3 separate regions of the Homo sapiens genome follow, and regions 2 and 3 are each linked to region 1. Evidence: promoter capture Hi-C in 16 types of primary human blood cells and fetal thymus (Javierre and others, 2016). All regions are on one chromosome and are shown on one strand. Each heading gives the region's core, a stretch centred on a gene start or on the middle of the fragment in contact. The rest is flanking DNA. Distances are from core to core; before and after follow the strand shown.

The links. Contacts are between HindIII fragments. The CHiCAGO score rates a contact against its expected background, and 5 or more counts as called.
Region 2: a fragment that was not itself captured here is called in contact with the fragment with the promoter of LINC01181 in region 1 in 2 of 17 cell types (endothelial precursors and megakaryocytes); the score reaches 5.7 in endothelial precursors.
Region 3: a fragment that was not itself captured here is called in contact with the fragment with the promoter of LINC01181 in region 1 in 2 of 17 cell types (endothelial precursors and megakaryocytes); the score reaches 7.4 in endothelial precursors.

Annotation. Positions count from the first base shown.
Region 1 is chr8:103,119,254-103,122,896 of GRCh38, reverse strand. LINC01181 (long intergenic non-protein coding RNA 1181) reads right to left here and starts at 1,865. Exons shown (of 6, transcript NR_145429.1): 1 at 1,684-1,865. RefSeq lists an enhancer at 327-828. The HindIII fragment of the contact is 1,509 bases long and covers 1,706-3,214 here.
Region 2 is chr8:103,203,641-103,206,822 of GRCh38, reverse strand. The region is part of intron 1 of BAALC (BAALC binder of MAP3K1 and KLF4); the gene reads right to left. Among named protein-coding and RNA genes, the nearest start is that of BAALC-AS1, 33 kb to the right of the region's middle. The HindIII fragment of the contact is 533 bases long and covers 1,024-1,556 here.
Region 3 is chr8:103,225,416-103,228,629 of GRCh38, reverse strand. BAALC (BAALC binder of MAP3K1 and KLF4) reads right to left here. Exons shown (of 3, transcript NM_024812.3): 3 at 1-641. The coding sequence ends at 531. Among named protein-coding and RNA genes, the nearest start is that of BAALC-AS1, 55 kb to the right of the region's middle. The HindIII fragment of the contact is 551 bases long and covers 1,323-1,873 here.

The DNA.
Region 1 (3,643 bases), core at 616-3,115:
TACCCTCTAGAGGTTTCCATTGGTTACTTGGTGTACGCCCTGTGTAAATGAAGAGGATCAAGTAAAGTTACAAAGACATTTACTGGGTTTACGCCTTGTGTCAATGGTGAGGATATTTCCTGTAATAGCTGAAGTATTTCCATTTGATTTAGTTCTAGGAAGTCAGCATGAATCAGTCTTATGTTCCCTGCCTCCAGACCGTATTCTCCTGTCTCACCCCGGGCAGACGTGGGGAGCTGCTGGCTGGTCGGCTGGTCAGCTGGTCAGCTCCCCTGGGAACAGGGCCCATCCCAATTCCCACCAGGTGTAGCCAGGGTGGTGAAGTCAAGTGGGACAACGTGAGGGCCTGTGCTTAAGGCCCCGTTTCCTCGGAAGGGGTTTGGGGCACTCAGGCATCAGGTACTGTACCTCCTGCCCAGGGATCCCAGAGCTGCCTAGAGGAATTTGAGCAGGCTGGAATTCCTGCTGAGCAAGCAAGGCCAGAGTCACAGAGACCCTCTTAAAGTGACCTTGCTTTTAGATGTAAGCCGATTCAGTCTAGGGGGAAAAAATGACCACATGGAACCACTTATAAGGCTCTCTAGCTTAAAAAAAAAAATTATACACCTTAGCTCACCAAAGTCTCCAGGAAGTAGACATTATCAGCAGCATTCCCATTTGACGAATGAGAAGACAAGCTTACAGAGGTTACCTGAATTGCGAGGATCACACAGCTAGTCAGCAAGGGAGCTGAGACTCAAACCTGCGTCTTCAGATTCTGGTTTGCGCCTCCTTCTGACTGCACAGCCCTGCAGGCTCCAGAACATCTCCCTTGCCGGCTCTGCTTCCTTTCCTCAGCTGTTGAATGGTGATGCTCCCAAGGCCGTCCGTTAGGGCCTGCATTTCTCTCCCTCTCCACACTCTCTCTGGTTGTTCTCATTTACCTCCTTGCCTTGGCCTAATATCAAAAAGTCAGTGGCCCCTAGAACTCTCTCCAGCCCAGATCTTTCTCCTGAGTTCCATACCTATATATCTAATGCCTTACTGGACACCTCCACATGGCTGTCCAAGCCACCTCAAGTGCAGTGTTTCTGAAATGAAACTCATCTTTCTCTGTAAACTGCTTCTCCTTCTGTGTTCTCTGAGTAGCAGTGACTTCACTTCTGAAGCACAGACTATGTGTTAGTTATTTCACACATGCAAGAGCGGGGTATCATCGTCCCATTTTACAAAAGATAAAAGTAAGGCTTGGAGACGTTAACTTGCTTGCACAAGGCCATAGTACCAAGTCGTTGACAGAGCCAGAGTTCAAATCAAACTCTATTCTGCATTTCTCTCACTGGCACAGGCTGCCTGGAAACCATGGGGCCTCAGCTCTTCACTCTGTTGCACGAACCAGAAGTCATGGTTCATTCTTGACTCCTCCAACCCTCCCCACCCTCTTCCCACCCTCACCCACCCCAGCTTCTCACCCCCACAGCTGCCTCAGAGCTGAGTCAATCAGTTCTACCACCTAAATGCTTCGCAAGCTGTGCCTTCTCTCCATTCCTATTGTCACTTCCTTGGTTTAGCCCCTAAATTATGTCTCCCTCATTACCTGAAATAACTTCCTAACTAGTTTCTTTGTCTCTAGTAACAACCCCGCTTCAAGTCCTCTCTCCCTGTGAATGAGCTTTCTAAAATATACCCAATCATTGCATTCACCTGGTTAAGACCTCCAAAAGCTTCCACTACCTCCAGGATAAATCCCAAATTCCTGTTTCTGCTGATGCCTGTATATGCAGGTGATCCCTTGCTGGGTCTCTGAAATGGGTTCATCTCTTCAAGGTTTTTACTGAGACGATATAGTCCTCTTGTTGCACATTGCACTGATCCAGGCCATCTGTACTGTATTCCAATGAGCTACAGAAAAATGCTTGCGTGAGAGCCTTTCATATGCAAAAATAAAGACTGAATTATGCCATAACTATTGATAAGTCTACAGTAATCCATCATGCAATTGTTTACCCAATAGATTGTGTTTATATTGTCTTTGGTACCATGTAATTTGTAAATTTTCATGACAGTGTAACCAGTTAGGCCTAGGGTGGCAGGACTTAAGTGTTGCTGAATCATTTATTACTCCACACCTCATTGAAAAGTGCTTCATAAACTTTCTGAAACTGTTCAACAGACAGAGGGTAATTTGTGCTCTGCCAACAAAGGATTCTGTTGTTGAGTGCCTATCAGCATATTAAAGGTTCAGAGAAAACCAGCAATGCAGAAACTAGAGCAATTTTGTTCTCAGAAGATAGTTTTCTTCTGCACATCCATTCGTTAACATATTCTAAAAGAGTCTGCCCTCAACAGGAGTTTGGGGAAGCACTGGGATAGAGTGCAGAGGCCCTGAGGCTTCTGGAGTTTATCTGACTCTGACATCAGGATGCAAGCACAGACCTGCCACTCTCTCAGGAACATCTTTCGTTAACTCCCGTTTGTCTTTCAAGATTCAGTTCAGATGGCATTTCCTCCTAGTGCTCTTCCTCCCTCTCTGTCTGTCACACACTCACAGGTGCATATGCACCCACACATTTGTGACATGTATAATAATTGCATGGGATTTCCTAACACCCTCTTTCATAATACCTGTCTGTATTTTCTATTGGTTGATAGAAAATTCAGCCCAGACGGATGAGAGCCAACAGGAAATTTATAGGCATTGGAGGCACGCTGCTGCAGCAGCTCCAGCCTCACCCATCCCCACCCTGTCCCAGGTCCAAGTTCAGCAGGAAAGCAGGATTGTCTCATAGGTTTTGTGCCCTGCCTGAGGAAATTCCCCAGATTGTGAATCCCCAAAGGTAGACCAGGGTCTCTTATCCCATATCCAGCCCTTAGCACCTTCCTTGGCATGCCTTGTTTTCAACAAATAACAAATGGGGACACAAAATGTTCAAAGCAAGACTTCTACCTCGAAGGAGTTTATAGTCTAGTTCAAGAGTCACTATGTATAAACAGAATAGAAATACAATAGACCATACAAGGTAACATAAATGCCAAATGAGTGACTTGGGTATTAAGTATCAAAGGAATTCAAAGAAGGGACAGTTTTGGGAGTTGATAAATAAGACATAGATCCTGAACTAGAGAAACTGTTTCTAGTAGGAAAGAAAGGTATGTTACACAGAAAATGCCAATACAGACTGATAAGTATGGGGGCAGAGTGTTCATTACCATGTTCTGTTGGTTCTAGAAAGCTTTTCTTTTTCACTAAATGATTCAAATAATAGCAGCCTTATTTTTCTTGGTCTTATTTACTTTATTTTACTAATAAATTTTTCAAGATGAGAATAGGGGATTTCCTGTTTTGGTGTGTGACTCAGGACACAGGGCCCCACATCGCAGCCTGACACATAGCAGCCTGATTTCATTTCACTGCAGCATCACAGTTTTCCATAACTTCTCTTTTTTTTTTTTTTGACAGAATCCTGCACTGTCACCCGGGCTGGAGTGCAATGGCATGATCTCGGCTCACTACAATCTCCGCCTCCTGGGTTCAAGCGATTCTCCTGCCTCAGCCTCCCGAGTAGCTGGAATTACAGGTGCCCGCCACCATGCCTAGCTAATTTTTTGTATTTTTAGTAAAGATGGGGTTTCACTATGTTGGCCAGGCTGGTCTCGAACTCCT
Region 2 (3,182 bases), core at 41-2,540, 85 kb before region 1:
ATCTTTGCTCAGCTCCTTGTCCTGCCCCATCCTGCTTCTCTCCCTCCCTCCTTCACACTCTTCTCCCAGGAATGCCCCTAGGAGTCACTTGCACAAAATCTCCATCTCAGGCTCTGTTACTACCAGAGCCAAGACAATATACATACCCTGCTTGTTGGATGTATTTCTTCTGCCCCTCCAGTCTCACTCTCCCCTTCTCTCTACCCTGGTCTGTGTCCCAGGAGACGACTGACCTGAATGCACATGTCAACAGGCTCTCTTGTCCACCGGCTTCTAGTGGGGTTTGACCAATGGGAGGAATTAGCTTTAGAGGGGAAGGGTCTGCGGCGGCACATTGAGGTCAGGTTTTTATTTCCCTAGCTCCTTCCTCCTTGCAGGTTGTCTTGGGTGGACCATGACCTCTACATACTTCTCCAAGAAAATCTCTCAGCAAGAAAAGCCTGAGAGATTGTTCAATTAAGTCTCCCTGATGACTTCAGGGAGAGCTCAGGGAACTGAGGAGAATGGAAGACAGATGGTCAGTTGTTGAGTAGAGAGTTACAGATGCTGTATCAGTCAGGGTTCTCAGCTGTAAGCAACAGAAATTGATTAGAGAATTAAAGCTTTAAAAAAGGATTTATTAAAATAATCTGGGAGCTCACAGTGTTTCTGGGAAGGCTGGAGGTTGAGGCATGGAGGCTATCAAGGGACAACTTCCTAAATCTTTCCACCAACCCTAGACTCTGGAAACTGCCCTCAGCACTGCTGCCACACTTATATTCAAAACTTATTATTTTTCTGAGATAAAAGTTTAACTGGGTGTCTTCAATTTTATCTGGCAACCCTATTGGGGTTATGCAAAATGCTCATCAAGTGCCCCAGAGTGGGGACATTGTTGTGAAAGTTGCACTGTACTAAACCCTGGGCTCTATTTGCATGTCTACTCCACACCACTCCTCTCGTGCTGGGGAGACAGGAGAATTACCCTTATTTTACAGAAGAAGAAATTGAAGTTTAACCCAGGTTCCGTATGTTTCCAAAGCTTGTGGTATTAGCAAAAACTCCCAAGTAGGCAGTTCTCAAATTTTAATGCATGAAACTACATGAAACTCACCTGGGGTGTCTGTTAAAATGCAGATCTCTACATTCATTCCTCCAGAACTTCTGATTCAGTAGGGGCCCAGGAATATGCATCTTAACAAGTTCCCTGTATCCCACCCCCAGGGATTCTAAGGCAGGGGATTCTAAAGACTGCAGAGGCTCATCTATATTATAGATATATATAGATCTATCTATCTATCTATCATCTATCTATCTGACATAGAGATCAACACTCGTGTTAGTTTTGAGGGTCACAAAGTACTCATGTATATTTTTTCCATAGTGAAGTCTGTACCAGTAAATTAGGAGACATTTATGTGCCCCTAGAGTATTTCTTGTTTGACACCCTTCACAAAATTTTCATTCCATGCAGGAAACAAGTCAAATCACTGAACCTTGCCAAAAGATAGGAAATAGCTGTGTCCACAGCTTGCTGATAAATTGCAACCCCAGGGATTCCTTGCCAAGCCAAAGCTTCTTGCTATTTTGGAAATGGAGCTGGGCAGGAGGGAAGAGTACAGAAATTAAAAATGGTAGCTAGAAGCCATGTGGAGAGCAGGTCAAGGGGTAATTTCTCCTTAGCTTGAGCACCTGGCTTTCCTTGGTGAAGGTGGTCACAGAGAGTTGGTCCAAAATCATCAGAAACAACCTGCAAGTCATTCTCCTCAATGACAGAAAACCAAAGTATAAGACATTGGCAATCAATATGGAAAGAATCTCCTAAAATCACAGCCAGTGAAACTCTGGTTCATCAAACACTGTCTGGGCTCTCAGGTCCTGAACACATGGCAGATAATAATTTTGTCTAAACTGAGGTATAAGTAAAACAAGCTGTGATTGCTCAGCCACTTACTAAGAATTTGTTTCATCTTTAAAATGAACTAGAATGGGACAGTGTCATTTCTTCAATCTGATGAGAAATTGTTGGCCACATACTATGTATAATACTATAATATGTGACCTTTTGCATGGCTATTACAAACACATTCTTAGAAAATATTGAGCAACCCTTAAATTTATGGTCATTTTTTTCTGGACAATGGTGCCAAGACACTTCAATGGGTAAAGAATAGTTTTTCAACACATGTGCTATGACAACTGAATATCTACATGCAAAATAATGAAGTGCACCCCTACTTCACACCATATACAAAAACTAAGTCAAAAGGATCAAAGATCTAAATGTAAGGGCTAAAATCATAAAACACTGAAAGGAAAATATAGGTGTAAGTCTTCATGACCTTGGATTATCCAATTGTTTCTTAGAAATGACCCCAAAAGCACAAGCAACAACAATGAAAAATAGATATAATGAGCATTATCAAAACTGAAAACTTTTGTGATTCAAAGGACACCATGAAGAAAGTGAAAAGGCAATCCACAGAATAGGAGAAAAAGTTTACAAATTATATATTTGGTAAGGAACTAACTTTCAAAGAACTCCTACAACTCAATAATAAAAAAGATAAATAATCCAGATAAAACATCAGCAAAGGACCTGAGTAGACATTTCTTTATAGAAGATATGCAAATGGCCAATAAACACATGAAAAGATACTCAGCATCATTAGCTATCAAAGAAATGCATATCAAAAACCACAAGGATATACCACTTCACACCCACTAGGATGGGGCTATAATAAAAAAAAGATACAGAATAAGTGTTCTCAGAAATGTAGAGAATTTGGAAATCTCATACACTGCTGGTGGGAAGACTAAATGGTACAGCTGCTTTCAGTCTGCAATTCTGTAAAAGGTTGAACATAGTGGTACCATAACCCAGAAATTCCTGTAGGGTATACACCCAAGAGAAACGAAAGCCTGTATCCACACAAAAACTTGTTCATGAGTGTTCTTAGCAATCTTATTTATAAAAGCCAAAAAGTAGAAACAACCCGAATATCCATCAATTGATGAATAGATAAATAAAGTATTTTATGTATATACAATGGAATATTATTTGGCAGTTTGACAAGAAATGAAGTACTGATATATACTACGACATTGATGAACCTTGAAACCATTACGCTACGTGAAAGAAGCCAGTTACAGAAGGCCACATATTATATAATTCCATTTATATGAAATGTTCAGAAATAGGC
Region 3 (3,214 bases), core at 349-2,848, 110 kb before region 1:
CTGTACCTTGATTTTTTCAATATGTGGGTTTAGAGTTGGATGAAAGCCAGCTTTTAAGTGAACCTGGTAAGATTTGTAATGACAATATTTAAAATGAAAGAAGGAAAGAATAAGCTTGCCTGAAACAGAATACACTATCATGGGCAGGAGAGTTATAGCACTAAGGTGTGACTCTTTCACCCAGAAAATGCATTCCTACTTTTCTGTTTCATAAACTGACCTGTAGCTTTAACTCACTACTTTTACACCAGACCGTATTACAGGAGTTGCAAAGAGACAAACTGAACTGCACATTTGCAGTTTATTAACATATGTAAGCACTGTGCCAATACATTTACATGATAAGTAGAAGGCTCAGAAGGTCCCAACAAATCAGGCAGCAGTTTGCTGCCAGGTAAGACAGTCTTGCCAGGGACTCAGTAGAATTCAGGTCCAGCAAGGGGCAGCCACTTCTTCAAGGTTCTTTGATGGGATCCAGTGCCGTGAAGGACACTGAAGAAGTCCATCTGCCCTTCTGCTTGGACTCTCTGCTAGTTGACACAGTTCTTTGTGATTCTTCGACTTCTGTCCATCTGTTGGATGCTATCTGTTACATTAATGGTGACTTCTTTTGCAGGCATTCTCTTAGCATCTCTTTTAGCCTGTTAAGTTGAAAACAGTGAATTGAGTTACTAGGAAATGTAAACCAAAGAAAATGACCGAGGCAAGTCTCAATCAATTTAGAGGTTTATTGTGCCATAGTTGAGAATGTGCCTGGGAAAAAGGAACATAAATCACAGGAACATTTGTGATCTGTGCAAAAATTCCCAAAGAGGGTTTGAGGACTTCACTATTTAAGGGGGAAAGAGTGGGCAGTAAGGGAAAGAGGAAAGGAAAAGGGAGGGTAGAGAATAGGGGCAAACAGTTACATTCTTTTGAGGCTTTGATGAGCATTCACTGAATCCACATTTTATGTGTGAAAGGAGGGGATAGAGGAACAGTCAAATATGCATTTGTCTCATGCTCAATGAACTTGCATTTTTTACATAAGATAAAAGAAACATAGAATAGTTAATGAGTAAAATATGCATTTGTCTCAAGTGAGCAGAGGGATGACTCCTAGTCCTGTCTTTGTCCCATACCTGTGAAGATAAGCTGTTAATTTACATGGGGTGAAATCCAACAGAACTCTGTTTTAGGGTAAAGATCTTAGGGCCCACAAGGAATTTCTTTGTAAGAAATTGTGAGGGAGTCCCCCTGGAAGGTATGTGGCCTTCTATCTTTGCAGTTATCTGTTTAGGAACAAAATGGAAGGCAGTTTTGGGTGGCTTAGCTCCTAAGCTTAACTTTCCCTTTCCATAGTGAGTTTGGGGTCCTGAGATTTTTATTTTCCTTTCACAGAAATATACGAAGGTCCTCACAATTTGCATTAATCTCTTGAGATTATCACAAATACACACACACACATACACGCACACACACAGTCAGGAAGAATGACCCACAAGAACGCATGCACATATGCTTCCTATCAGAGGTTTCTTTGTTGAATCTTTAATACCAACACAGCACAGAGCCTGGAATAGGGCATGTTTATTAAAACACTGTTGAGTGAATGAGCTATGGTCCATCAAAGGGTAATGTGAAAGTTTTCATAGTTGGCTTTAGTAGAGTGGTTAAGTGTTTGAGCTTTGGAGTCAGAGAGACTTTGGTTCAAATACTGGCTATATGATTTCACTATGGGCAAGTTTTTCCAACTCTCTAACCCTTATCTGTAAAATGGGGAATAATAATATTATCTCTCTCATAAGGTTTTTATATGGATTAAATAAGGTAATGCATGTAAGGTACTTAGTACAATGACTGTCACTAAATGAAAATGGGAAAAAAATAAGCTTAAAAAGTAGGATAGACTATCTACTTCTAACTAAGGATAAACCAATGACAAAAGTTCTGAATTAATATTAAACATTAAAGCATTAATTAAATTGTAGGTTCTTTAAGTATATGTGTCCAGTCCCTGACTCTCCATCCCCTAAAAGAGAAAACAGCATTGGTGAGGGGCAGTGTTGTGCCTATTCTTGTGATTGTGTGCTGGGGGTGAACACGAGTGGGCTTGTGAGTCACCTCCACTAGTGGATGGACACAGTTATTTGCTGCCCAGCCCCATTCCAGAAATGACCTGCTGCCTCGCTGCAGGGAGAACAGTCAGCAAGTAGCCTCCAGCTGGGGACAGCATCAGCTGCAGAGAGCCACCTCACTCAAGTTTGTGCCCTTCCCAAGATGGGCCAATGTGCAGGTAAATGGAAGGGCATAAAGGTCTGACCATTTGGGCCCTAAACAGGTCAGCTCCCACAAGCCATTTAGCTGCATGGAGCAGGGGTCGCTGAAGCTGTTGTCAGCTTGCATTGTGGCTGGACTTCTCCCTTAACCCACTCCTGCTTCCATCATCCCTTTCCACAGGCGTTGGCCTCAAGGGCACTTCCTAACATCCTGTATAATGACATCTTGGTCTGCCTCCTGGGAACATAGTCTGCCTCAGATCCTGTGGGAACACCCCTCCAGGCATGAGCACCTCCTTGTGCTGGGTGTTGAGAGATGCACATTTTTCAAACAACATGGCCCCTGAACACAAACTACTTCCTCTGTAGTGCATCCAAATAAATGGTGAACTATTGCACTGATGGAGAAAAATCCATTGTTCTGTTGTATTTATTAGCAAACGATATGTATGTTTCTAATATGTCACATAAATCCTGTGTCCTTGTGTAGCTGATGGCGACACCCCTCTCTAGATCCCCTTTACTCTGCCAGAGCATCCCTCCCAGCTGCTGTGACTGTTGGCTGCTAACTGCTCACAGCACACCCTTCTTTTGAGAATTGCCCTCATCTGATTGGAGCCACCTCCTCCAGGAATGCCAAAGAGGCCCATATCCTGGATAGGCCCATATCCCATGCCTGATTGTTAGGATAAAAAAGGCTGCCCCTTAGCCTCTTGGGGGTACAAATCCATGGTGCTTTGCTTGCCCCAGGTCTCCTTGTGGGATCTGGCTGAGGCTAGACTACAGCTGTTCCGCTGACTGAACTCACACATTTGCTGAATCTGATCCCCTGCCCTGCCCTGCTTCCTCCATTACCATGCAGGTTTCACCTGAGTGTACTTTTTCAATTACTTGCATGAGAATTACTTGCATCCTTTCAATTACTTACATCCTTATCTCAGGTTCTGCGTTTAGGG